Regions from separate parts of the Homo sapiens genome. Here regions 1 and 3 are each linked to region 2. Evidence: promoter capture Hi-C in 16 types of primary human blood cells and fetal thymus (Javierre and others, 2016). All regions are on one chromosome and are shown on one strand. Each heading gives the region's core, a stretch centred on a gene start or on the middle of the fragment in contact. The rest is flanking DNA. Distances are from core to core; before and after follow the strand shown.

Evidence for each region. The method cuts DNA at HindIII sites, captures the fragments that hold promoters and counts their contacts. A CHiCAGO score of 5 or more calls a contact.
Region 1: a contact is called between a fragment that was not itself captured here and the fragment with the promoter of FNDC7 in region 2, in 1 of 17 cell types (activated CD4 T cells). The highest score is 5.6, in activated CD4 T cells.
Region 3: a fragment that was not itself captured here is called in contact with the fragment with the promoter of FNDC7 in region 2 in 1 of 17 cell types (naive CD4 T cells); the score reaches 5.2 in naive CD4 T cells.

What each region holds. Positions count from the first base shown.
Region 1 is chr1:108,554,999-108,558,703 of GRCh38, forward strand. No RefSeq gene overlaps it. Among named protein-coding and RNA genes, the nearest start is that of EEIG2, 3.2 kb to the right of the region's middle. The HindIII fragment of the contact is 3,181 bases long and covers 574-3,705 here.
Region 2 is chr1:108,710,915-108,714,276 of GRCh38, forward strand. FNDC7 (fibronectin type III domain containing 7) reads left to right here and starts at 1,994. Exons shown (of 13, transcript NM_001144937.3): 1 at 1,994-2,082; 2 at 2,597-2,615. The coding sequence starts at 2,020. The HindIII fragment of the contact is 11,369 bases long and covers 1-3,362 here.
Region 3 is chr1:108,899,021-108,902,753 of GRCh38, forward strand. It overlaps GPSM2 (G protein signaling modulator 2), which reads left to right. Exons shown (of 15, transcript NM_013296.5): 8 at 2,770-2,925. Among named protein-coding and RNA genes, the nearest start is that of GPSM2, 24 kb to the left of the region's middle. The HindIII fragment of the contact is 5,386 bases long and covers 1-3,733 here.

The DNA.
Region 1 (3,705 bases), core at 914-3,413, 160 kb before region 2:
TTTTAACGCAGGCTCATGATTTCTTTAGCAATACAGTAGTTCAAAAACTGAAAAGTATTTGATCTTTTTGCTTCCAGTCAGTTCCATATGCCAGAAACACTGAGGTTTCCTAGAGATAATTCTCAATCCTGATTATCTCTTTGCTTCTTCACTCCTCTCTTCCTCTCAATTTAAGGAGGCTACTTTGAGAACATCAGACTTAAATGTGAAGACCACACCCTAAATATAATCTTTGTTTCACGGCTGAGTCTTAATGGGCCCTTGTTGCTCAAGAGCTTTTTCAATCTTATTTCCTATTCTTTGAGGTATAGAGCAGTTAGTTTTTCCCATCCCTTGAGGCTCCAAATTTCTGGACTCTCTATATTCCTTTTAATTTATGCTTGCAAACCTGCTAATTATTGCATGAGTTCATCTTATGTTTCCAATATCTTACTGAATGCAGCCATAAATATAACCTACTAACATTCCATTTTTCAACCTCTTATAGAACTATGGGTTTCATAGATATCTTACTTTCTTACCAAATTATTGTAGGTATAAGATTGATGGGAAAGCTTCCCCTCTGCCTTCTGAAGCTTTGCTGAAATGACTGACAATAGACAGATTAACAGGAGAAAAGGCATACAAATTTATCAGTGCACATGGACAGAGTAGTCCTGCGAATATGAGACTCAAAGAAAGACCAGAGGGTTGAGACTTAAATATCCTTTTTGTAGGGGAGAGGTAAAGGGGGAGTGTACGCATTTTTAAGGGGTAGTAAATGCTTTTCAAGGGAATTGAATAAACCTGTAAGAATTGTCACACCTCTGGCAGTAAGCAGTCTTAGCACATGTCTATTCACTCTGTTGTTTTACCTGAGAGTTAACACACTTAGGATAGGTCTATAAATTCAGGTCATTTCAAGAAACATGTATTGAATACCCACTAGGTACTGGGCTATTTAGAAAAGATACAAAGATGATCAGCAAACCATCCCTGCCTTTAAGAAACTTGAATTATAAGTACTGGAGTAGATACTTAGCCTCAACATTCATTCCACCATCCTATCTGAAGAAGTTGGAAAGCTGAAAATTACATTTCTCAGACTCCTTTGCCACTCAATTTTTGGGTGCAAATAAGGCCTGCCAAATAAATTTCCTTATGAAAACACAGGTGCAAGTGAAATGGAGGCTCTCTTCTTACTGCTGTGTCACTTGCAAGCAAGGTGTGATGACATGCCTGTGGCATTCAGACTCCTCATAGTCTTGACAGGTGTGAGCCAGTGGTGGTGGCAGCAGCAGTAGCAGTGTTCTAGTGTCAGCTTCCCATCCCAGCTGCAGTGTATGTTAGTCAGAATAAACTAGACTTATGCTGTAGTGACAAGCATCCCCCAAAATCTCAGTGGCTTCATATAATAAAAGTTGCTTTCTCACAGACAAAATGTTTCCTGCAGGTGTGGGCAGTTGCTCTCCATGTGCTGACTTAAGAAATCTGGGCTGCTTCAATCTTGTGGCTGCTACATCTTAACCCAAGGTCTCCTCTATAACTATTGTGGCAGGGAAGAGGTAGTCTAGAGAACTGCTCAAAGGCTTTTCACTGTTTCATCCTGGAAGTGACGTGTTACTTCTCACATTTTATTGGCTAGACCTCATCACAAGGCCCCACTAACCGCAAGGGAATTGGGAACTGTAAACTCCCATATGCTCAGAAATCAAGGAGGACCGGATACTAGTGAACACTAGTAATGTTTACCACAAAGCATGTGACTTTGAATTCGACAGTCTGCTGACCTCAACCCCTTCAGCCCTTCCACAGATTTCAGAAGCAGTGAAGTGCCTGAATGAAATCCCTTTTTTTTTTTTTTTTTGAAACATCCAGAGTGGTTTCAGCTTCCTATGGTGAACCCTGACTGTATCCTTTGTGTGCTAGTGGCTTTCCATCCCCTTACCTCCAACCATTCTCTACCTTTCAGTGCCCTACTTTGTGCCCCAGGAGTCTGTCCTGTATGAACTGCATGTTCCGAGCCCCTCTACCCTCTGGCCTTGGTTGGTTTTGGATCATGGGAAGCACCACCAAGAGATCAGAAAGTAGGAGGTGAGAGAAATCAGGATATTTATCCCTTCTTCCTTTCAACTTCTCACCAGACTGTGGGTCCCTTACCCTGTCAACTCTGTGAAGAGTCCTTTCATTAAATTTTCCCCATTTAAACACATTGAATATGATATCTGTTTCCTGCCTTGACTATGACTCCTATCAGGGGTTTAATAATCAAACCATGAGTCTAAAAAACAGTAACAGACTGTCTCCTATCTTCCATTTTATAAAGTAGAAGAGCTTTACAAAATGTAAATCTGAATATATCATGCTTCTTCTTTAAAACTTCAATGGCTCTTTGTTAACCCCTGTCACTGTACCCAACTCTAAGTTGCAGCCAGACAGAACTAATTTCAGTTCCCTCTGCAACATGGTCTCTCTTCCTTTGAGCCTCTGCACAGACACTACCTCCTTCCTGGAAACTGCTCCCCACCCATGCTCATTATTCAGGCCTCAGCTTAAAGGCCTGAATTCAGGCTTCACTTACCCTAGAAGGCATTCCATAAACCTACTACTTATCCCTGTTAGCTTTTATAGTCTCCCACAGCAGTCTCCACTCACCATCATACACAGACAGCACTCAGTGTTACATTGTACTGCAACTGCCTGCTTACTTCTCTGTGTCCTCCAGTAGACCGTGAGATCTAAGACAGGGACGGCATTTCAAATCCATAGGACCTATTAAGGTGCTTGGCACCTAATAGACACTCAATAAATATTGGATAGTTCCTGAATGTTATTGAAAAAGATTGAACTGTCCTCCTCTGGTCACCATTCTCTCTCTCTTTTCATTCGCTGACAAAAAAATCAGAAAAACATCAATAAAAATATAATTTTTATTTACCCACATTACTTTGTCACTATCTTACTTTTCACTGTCATCTTTTCACTTACTTTGTCACTTTTCATCTTACTTTGTCACTATCTTTTATGATGACTTCTCTTGCCAAGATTACCAATGACCTCCTAGACCTTCAATTCAGTAGCTTCTTTTCAGTCCAAATCCTCTGGGACTGCTCTGCAGCACTCTCTTGAAATGGTCCTCTGTCCTACATGGATCACAGATTGCTCTCTCTCTTTCTTTCTCTCTCTCTTCTCTCTCTCACACACACATACTCACATACCACACACACACACTTTAGTTGATCTGTTTGCATATCTCTGTTTTTCTCCATTCCTTTATAAGCCCCTATGTCTTATTCATTTGCATCTCTAGTACCCAGCATAGTGCCTGGCACACAATAGAACTTTGTAACTACGAATGTTACATGATTAAAACCGTCTGGGCTTCCAGGCCATCTCTTTCTTCATCTCCTTTTTCTCTTGACTGCTTGTTCTTAGGCACCTTCACGATCTCCTCTTTGCCTACCCTTTAAATATTCTTCAGAGTAACTCATCCTTATCCACCTTTTGGGCTTCAGCCATCAGCGATTACCTCAATTCCCAAATGTATATTTTCAATTGCCAATGCATTTTTATGAGCTAAGGCTGCCTCTCTCTCCCTAGATGTACTGCAAGCAGATCCCATAAAGACTCATTATCTCTTCCATTCCCAACCTGCCCTCCTCTTGCTTTCAATGTTCAGTCAATGAAATTAACATTCATCCAGTGCTCTAAATGACAAATCTCAAA
Region 2 (3,362 bases), core at 744-3,243:
GACCAGCTTCTAATTTTAGACATCCAATAAGTATGTATCTCACTGTGGTTTTAATTTGCATTCTGTGGGCCCAGCGCAATGGCTCACGCTTATAATCCCAGCACTTTGGGAGGCCAAGGTGGGCAGATGGCTTGAGCCCAGGAGTTTGAGACCAGCCTGGGCAACATGGTGAAACCCCATCTCTACAAATAATACAAAAATTAGCCAGGTGTAGTGCTGCACACCTGTGGTCCCAGCTACTCAGGAGGCTGAAGTGGGAGGATCATTAGAGCCTGGGAGGTCAAGACTGCAGTGAGGTGTGATTGCGCCACTACATTCCAGGTTGGATGACAGAATGAGACCCCGTCTCCAAAAAAAAAAAAAAAAACCTTTTCTGCATTCTGCTAATGACTAGTGATGCTGAGGATTTTTTCCATGCCTTTATTTTCCACGAGTATGTCTTCTTTTGTAAAGTGTTTGTTCATATCTTTTGCCCATTTTGTATTGAGTTGTTTTCCTATTACTGGGTTTTGAGAATACACACACACAGAATACAAGTCCTTTATAAGATATATATTTTCCCGCAGTCTGTGGCTTATCTTTTCATTCCCTTAATAGTGCAGATATTCTTCATTTTAATGAAGTCAAATTTATCAAATTTTAAAAATGGATTATACTTTTAGTGTTGTATATAAGAAATCTTTGCCTAACCCAAAGTCACAAAGATATTCTCTTGTGTTTTTTTTTCTGGACATTTTATAGTTTCAGGTGCTACATTTAGATCTATGATCCATTTTGAGTTCATTTTTTAATGTGGTGTGAGGTATGAACCAAAGTTTATGTTTTCTGCATATGGTTATCCAGTTGTTCCAGCACCATCTGTTGAAAAGTCTATTCTTTCTCCTTTGGATTGCCTTGTATCTTTGTTGAAAATCAATTATCTATATATGCGTGGGTTTATTTTTGGACTCTCTGTCCCATTGATCTATTTATCTATCTTCATGCCAATACCACCCGGTCTCTATTTTATTTTAGCTTTATGGTAAATCTTAAAGTCAGGGACGGTAAATGCAGTTCTTTTCCCTTTTTTGTAATCCTATCTTGGTTGAAAGTAGAAATCAGACTGATGCGTTTTAACTCTAGTTTGATCATTTAATTCTTGTGTGATTTCAGATAAGCCAATTAATTATGTTTATTATTCATTTATGTATCTGTTCATTGTTAAAATTATACATTGTAATTCTTAAATTAAATGCTAATTATTATTAAGAGTGTGAACTAGGAAGACAGCTCCGGAAATAAAAGGAACTAGCCAGGCGCAGTGGTGCATGCCTGTAGTCTCAGCTACTCAGGAGGCAGAGGTGGGAGGATTGCTTGAGCCCAGGAGTTGGAGGCTGCTTGGCAAAATAGCAAGACCCTGTCTCTAAAAAAATGAAAAAAAAAAAAAGGTACTGGAACTGCAGGGTGGTACGGGGGATGGATAAATTTAATGTGCTCACCAGGGACCTCTCACTATCTTTCTCAGTACAGGGACATGCTCCTGCCCTTTCATATTCCATGTTGAAGTTTTGCAACAAATTCTTCCTGACAGTAGGACCAATCACTTACTTTGAACTAAAAGAACAACAACAAATAAAGGTGAAAAAGAAAAATAAAACTGGTCAGCATCCCCGAGTTCAAAATAATTATTCTACCACATCAACAACTTTCTGTGCAGCTTTCTAAAATTTTTATTTAGACAGAAATTGTTTTAAAAAGAAGGTTGCTTTGAAACCAAGGTTACAGTAGCTTTTTGGCCCGCTTGCCGTGGCTTTCTCCAACTCTCTTCTTCTTTTCAGTCTTTGCAATACCTGTCCCTGCCGGTCTCCAAGTGCCCCTGGTTACAGGTCAGCTCCACACTGAAGGGGAGGAGCTACTTCCTAGGGTCTCTTCCCAGCATCACAGCCCTACATCCCAGCGACCAACGGTGTTATACTCCTGGGGGCCAAAGAGGACCCGGATTGCTTTGTTTTGTGCCATGTGAGTACTATGTCCAACAGGATGGCTGGTGGACGAGAGACATGTTTGCCTTTGATTGGATTCATTCTTATCTGTCTTAAAATGGTGAGTTCATCATTCCAACTACCCACAACTATTTAGGGGAAAAAAGAAAGACACATTATTTTTCTCTCCTTTTTTTTTTGAGGAGTTGGGGAATAGGGAGATAGAAATCAGAATACTTTGGTTTGTACCGAGGTTGTATATGTTTGCGTGTTTGAAATTTAATGCCATATACTAGAGAAAGAAAACAAGATTATCATTATATTTTAAGAACAAAGATTTCTGAAAAATCTGTCAGCAGCTACTGACTTAGTTCAATAGGCAGATTCAAAGGGGAAAAAAATGAAATAGTAATGGGATCTGCCTCCAGCCTCTAAATTCTATTTAGAGTTGTTTTGTGGTAGATTTGGGTGCTGGGAAATGATTTGTGTGGAGAAATACTTGTATGGATTGAAAGACTGCTCACGTTAGATGTAAAAATGTTGTGATTAATTTATTACCGCTTTTATTCATGTTTTACGTTTGTTCAAGTTGTGTTTTTCTGTGTGGTTCTAATTTTCCAAACTTTCCTTTTCAGGTTGCTTCAGCAAAATCAGGTACAATTTTCTGACCTGCAAGTTTTTCCTTCTCGTATTTGATTTTAATTTCCATTGTTAATTCACGGGCTACCCTGAAATCTAAAGGCTATATGAGAAAAAAAAATTCAATATTTTCTGAGCACTCACACTGGGTGCTAAGCACTCTATTGGGTCCTGGGGAGACAATAACTGGTAAGACAAATAAATGGATTGAACTCGAAAGACAAATCTTCATAAAGTGTTCTTGCTGAGGACTATAATGTACAGAGCCATGTAGGCATGCATTTTCTCATATACGGTTAGCCATGTGTGAAATATTACAATGATCATCATTCCAGTTAAGATATTGTACAGAGTCTAATTTATACAAATGTTCTTGTTTATCTTCCGGGGAATTAGAGGGAAAATGAGAAATGTTATATTTGATTAAATTGTCAATATTCCCTACTTTAAAAAGAACTTTATACTTCTAATATTGCATATTTGAAATATAGACAATAGTCACTCAGGGCTGAAAGGGGACCCTCTTTTAAAAATAGTTGATCTCCATCTTTCTTGAGTAGATAACCGAAGGCAAAAATAATTTATCTAGAGGCCCCTCCTAGCTCATTTGTGCTAGAAATCTAAGTACCTGGAATGGAAATTTATTTTTAGGAGGGTTAACTTATCTGTAGGAACCACATAATATCAACCATATCACCGATAAATTCTCATAGTGATTCAACATAAATTAGAAAAATTTTTATTTATTATTTTGTCTACACC
Region 3 (3,733 bases), core at 961-3,460, 190 kb after region 2:
TGTAAAATGAATACTCAGTCCCATTAATTCATAGGCTTTAGGTTTAAAATCTGATTGTAGCAGAACTTTTGGCATCTAAGCCTCAATTTCCTTATCTGTAACAGAATATATCAATACTTCATTTTGGGGAATGCTGTGAGGATTGAATGAAATAATATACTAAACACAGTATCTGGTACACAGTGCTCAATAAATATTATTGTACATAAGATTTAATAGCAGCAGTATGACCCCTTTATAATATTGGTTTTTATCTTTAAAAGTAATTGTTTTTAAATGAAGTTTTCAACCTTTAATATCTTTTAAACCTGTTTAGCATATGTGGTGTATATTGTGTATATGCTTTATTTCACTCAGTTATGGGTTAGAAGAGAGGCCAAAAGAAAGCCTTGTAACAAAAATATTTATAGTCTATACCAGTGATCACTGAATTTTTTTCTCTACCTTCCCACCCTCTTATTGAGCAGTTCTCCCTTTACCCTCTTTCTGCCTATATTTGACTGTCACTGTAAGCTGAGTCCCCCATTCACTTACCTGAAGCATTTACAATCCCAGCTTCTTCTGTGGCAGGATCTCTCTTATCAGTAGATTTGAGACATAGATGATAGAAAGTTTAGACAGCTTCAAGTTGCCTGATCTGTGCTTTCTAGATTGAGTTTTCCCTAGTTAGTGGGGATTGAAGCCTCTTACAGATTTTGGGTAGAAGGCAGTTTGACTAAACCGAAGACACAGTGATTGATTTGTATTTTGTTAAAGAAGCCAATATGAGACAGTTCTGGATAATTTGTCATCTTCATAAAAAAGGTAAAATTGTTTTAGGCCTATCTAAAAAAATTAAATAGCATTCCACTTTGCTTTAAACATCAACTAATGGTTAATATTTGTTGGTTAGGTTAGTTAGATATGAAATAGCCTCCCAAATAAAATATATCACTGTGTACTATGTGAAGGAGTATATATTTTGATTTTAAATATAAAAATTTCCTATATTTAAAGCCAAGGGATATAGAGAAGTCTTAATTATTAAATGGTGTATCTGTGTTAAATACTGAAAGGTTCTATTATAAAATGGATAGTGGCTATTTGACTAAAGAAGCATGAATATAAAGTAATGAAACTTAGTTTTTTTCCTCCCAATAAGCAGGCTAGAACTCAGAACTTTATATATATTCCAAGTCGTTGGTTAGAAATATTTTTAGAACTCTTCTTTAGATTTTTTTTTTTTTTTTTTTTTTAAATACGGAGTTTTGCTCTTGTCGCCCAGGCTGGAGTGCAATGGCACAATCTTGGTGCACTGCAACCTCGGCCTCCCCGGTTCAAGCGATTCTCCTGCCTCAGCTTCTGAGCAGCTGGGATTACAGGTGTCTGCCACCACGCCCAGCTAATTTTTGTATTTTTAGTAGAGACGGGGTTTCGCCATGTTGGCCAGGCTAGTCTGGGACTCCTGACCTCAAGTGATCCGCCCACCTCAGCCTCCCAAAGTGCTGGGATTACAGGCGTGAACCACCACACCCAGCCTGGAATTGTTATCAGGGCCAAACAAGAAGGCTAACAATGTAGATCCATATCCTTCCGGATACAAAGCAGTAGTTTGGTAAACCTATGTTAGTAATTGAATTTGGTTCCAGAAAGATTTCTGATCATTTACAAATCAACTGTACCATCAAAGAATAATGGTATGCCAGAAAGCATTATGCCACAGGATCTGAAAGCAATTCCAAAAGTCTTTCAAAAATATTTGAAAAGACAGGCAACATTAGAATAAGTAGGTAGCCTCCCAAGGTGACAGATTTGAAGGTATCATCATTAAATATGTAACTTTAGATTTGTTTGCTTAAAAAAAGCTATCACGTTACCGCATAGTAATTTGTCATATAGTTATAAGTGATATGAAGTAATTATACTATTTGACAGAAATAATGGGAGGGTCATTTAAATTACTGAATCCAAAAGCATCTATAGGTTTAAGCACTGATAATAACACATTAACATTTATACAGCAACTACTATGCACAAGATGCTATTCTAAGCACTTTATACATATTAATTTAATCCTCACAAAAATCCTTCGAGATATTTCCCCCATTTTATATAAGAAGAGACTGGTATACAGAGAGATTGAGTGACTTTGCCCTTAGCTTAGTAATTGGCAAAGTTGGGATTTAAACCCAGTCTAGCTCCAAGATCTATGCTCTTAACTGCTACGCTAGCTTCTCACTGGCAATACCACAGGTAGAATTTGGGTAATGTTTGGATGTAGTATTCAGTATTTTTCATGAGTTGGTGACTAATGCCCGATACATAAGAATTTTACCTAAGTGGTGACTAATAGCCTACACATAAGAATTTTACCTAAATATTTTAAATTTTGACAATGCAAAGGTGACGGTATGATTGAAAACAGATGTCATGTGGAAAAAAGCCTCTTTTAGCTATTGCCAATACTAAAGGGAAAGTTTTTTTAAATGTTAAAGATATTATGTTAATCTCTAGAACCTCTTGATTTTATGTTTCAATACTCCTTTACTTTGATGAATTGTTAGGATTCTCAAATTTATTCTAAAAGTCTTGAATCTTCTTTCTGTGTTTCAAAAACGTCTTTTCATTTTGTCTAAAAGTAATGGAGAAAGTACGGGATATGAATATTAGGCTCTCAGAGATTTAAAGACAGCAGAAAGCAGCAGAGAGGAAAAATGAGAGTTTTGTTTTGTGATTCTTAAAGCCCAAACTGAGAATGATCATTATATAAGAATTAATTTCTTCTTGTAGGAAGACACTACTGTTGGCCCGACAGCTTAAAGACCGAGCTGTAGAAGCACAGTCTTGTTACAGTCTTGGAAATACATATACTTTACTTCAAGACTATGAAAAGGCCATTGATTATCATCTGAAGCACTTAGCAATTGCTCAAGAGCTGAATGATAGGTATGTTTTACGTCTTTTTACCATAACTAAGGTAAAATATAGATGCATTATTGAATCCCTAGAATTTTTCCTTTGTTTCTTTTCCTTTGTTTTCCTTAAAATCCCTTTTAAGGAATTTTCTTTCAGTGATATCCTCTGTATATCATTGTATGAAGGGCTAGTCTGTGATAGAGGATTAGTCTGGTTCCATATGCCCTTGACCCAAGATCAATGACTAGGTCCCAAACTCAATTACCTCTTCAGAAGTCTTCCTGGTGAAACCCCGTATCTACTAAAAATACAAAAATTAGCCGGGTGTGGTGGCGCACGCTTGTAATCCCAGCTACTCAGGAGGCTGAGGCAGGAGAATCGCTTGAACCCAGGAGGTGGAGGTTGCAGTGAGCTGAGATCACGCCACTGCGCTCCAGCCTGGCGACAGAGCAAGACTGCATCTCAAAAAAAAAAAAAAAAAAGTTTTCCTAACTACATAAGTGTGGGAATTGTGGTGAACTTAGAGATAATGTCCAGTGTGAAGGGGGCAACTGCTACCCAACTCCAACTAATTGTTGCCAGCCAGGAATGAAAATCCGTTATGTCCACATCTTCCTGTTTTTTAAAGAGAAGCTGGAAGTGCTGAGTTTTATATGAAATCTGATTTTTAAATGTTAGTGGCTAATTCAGTTTTTTTGTTTTACTGTATTAAAAAACATTATTTTCCAGCATTTAGTCTGTGATGTTTGCTTTAGAAGATCGATTTTGTTTTTACCTCAGTATGAGAGAGAACTTTTCGATGCAGATGTTCAAAATGAAGTATGCTACCTCAAGAGGT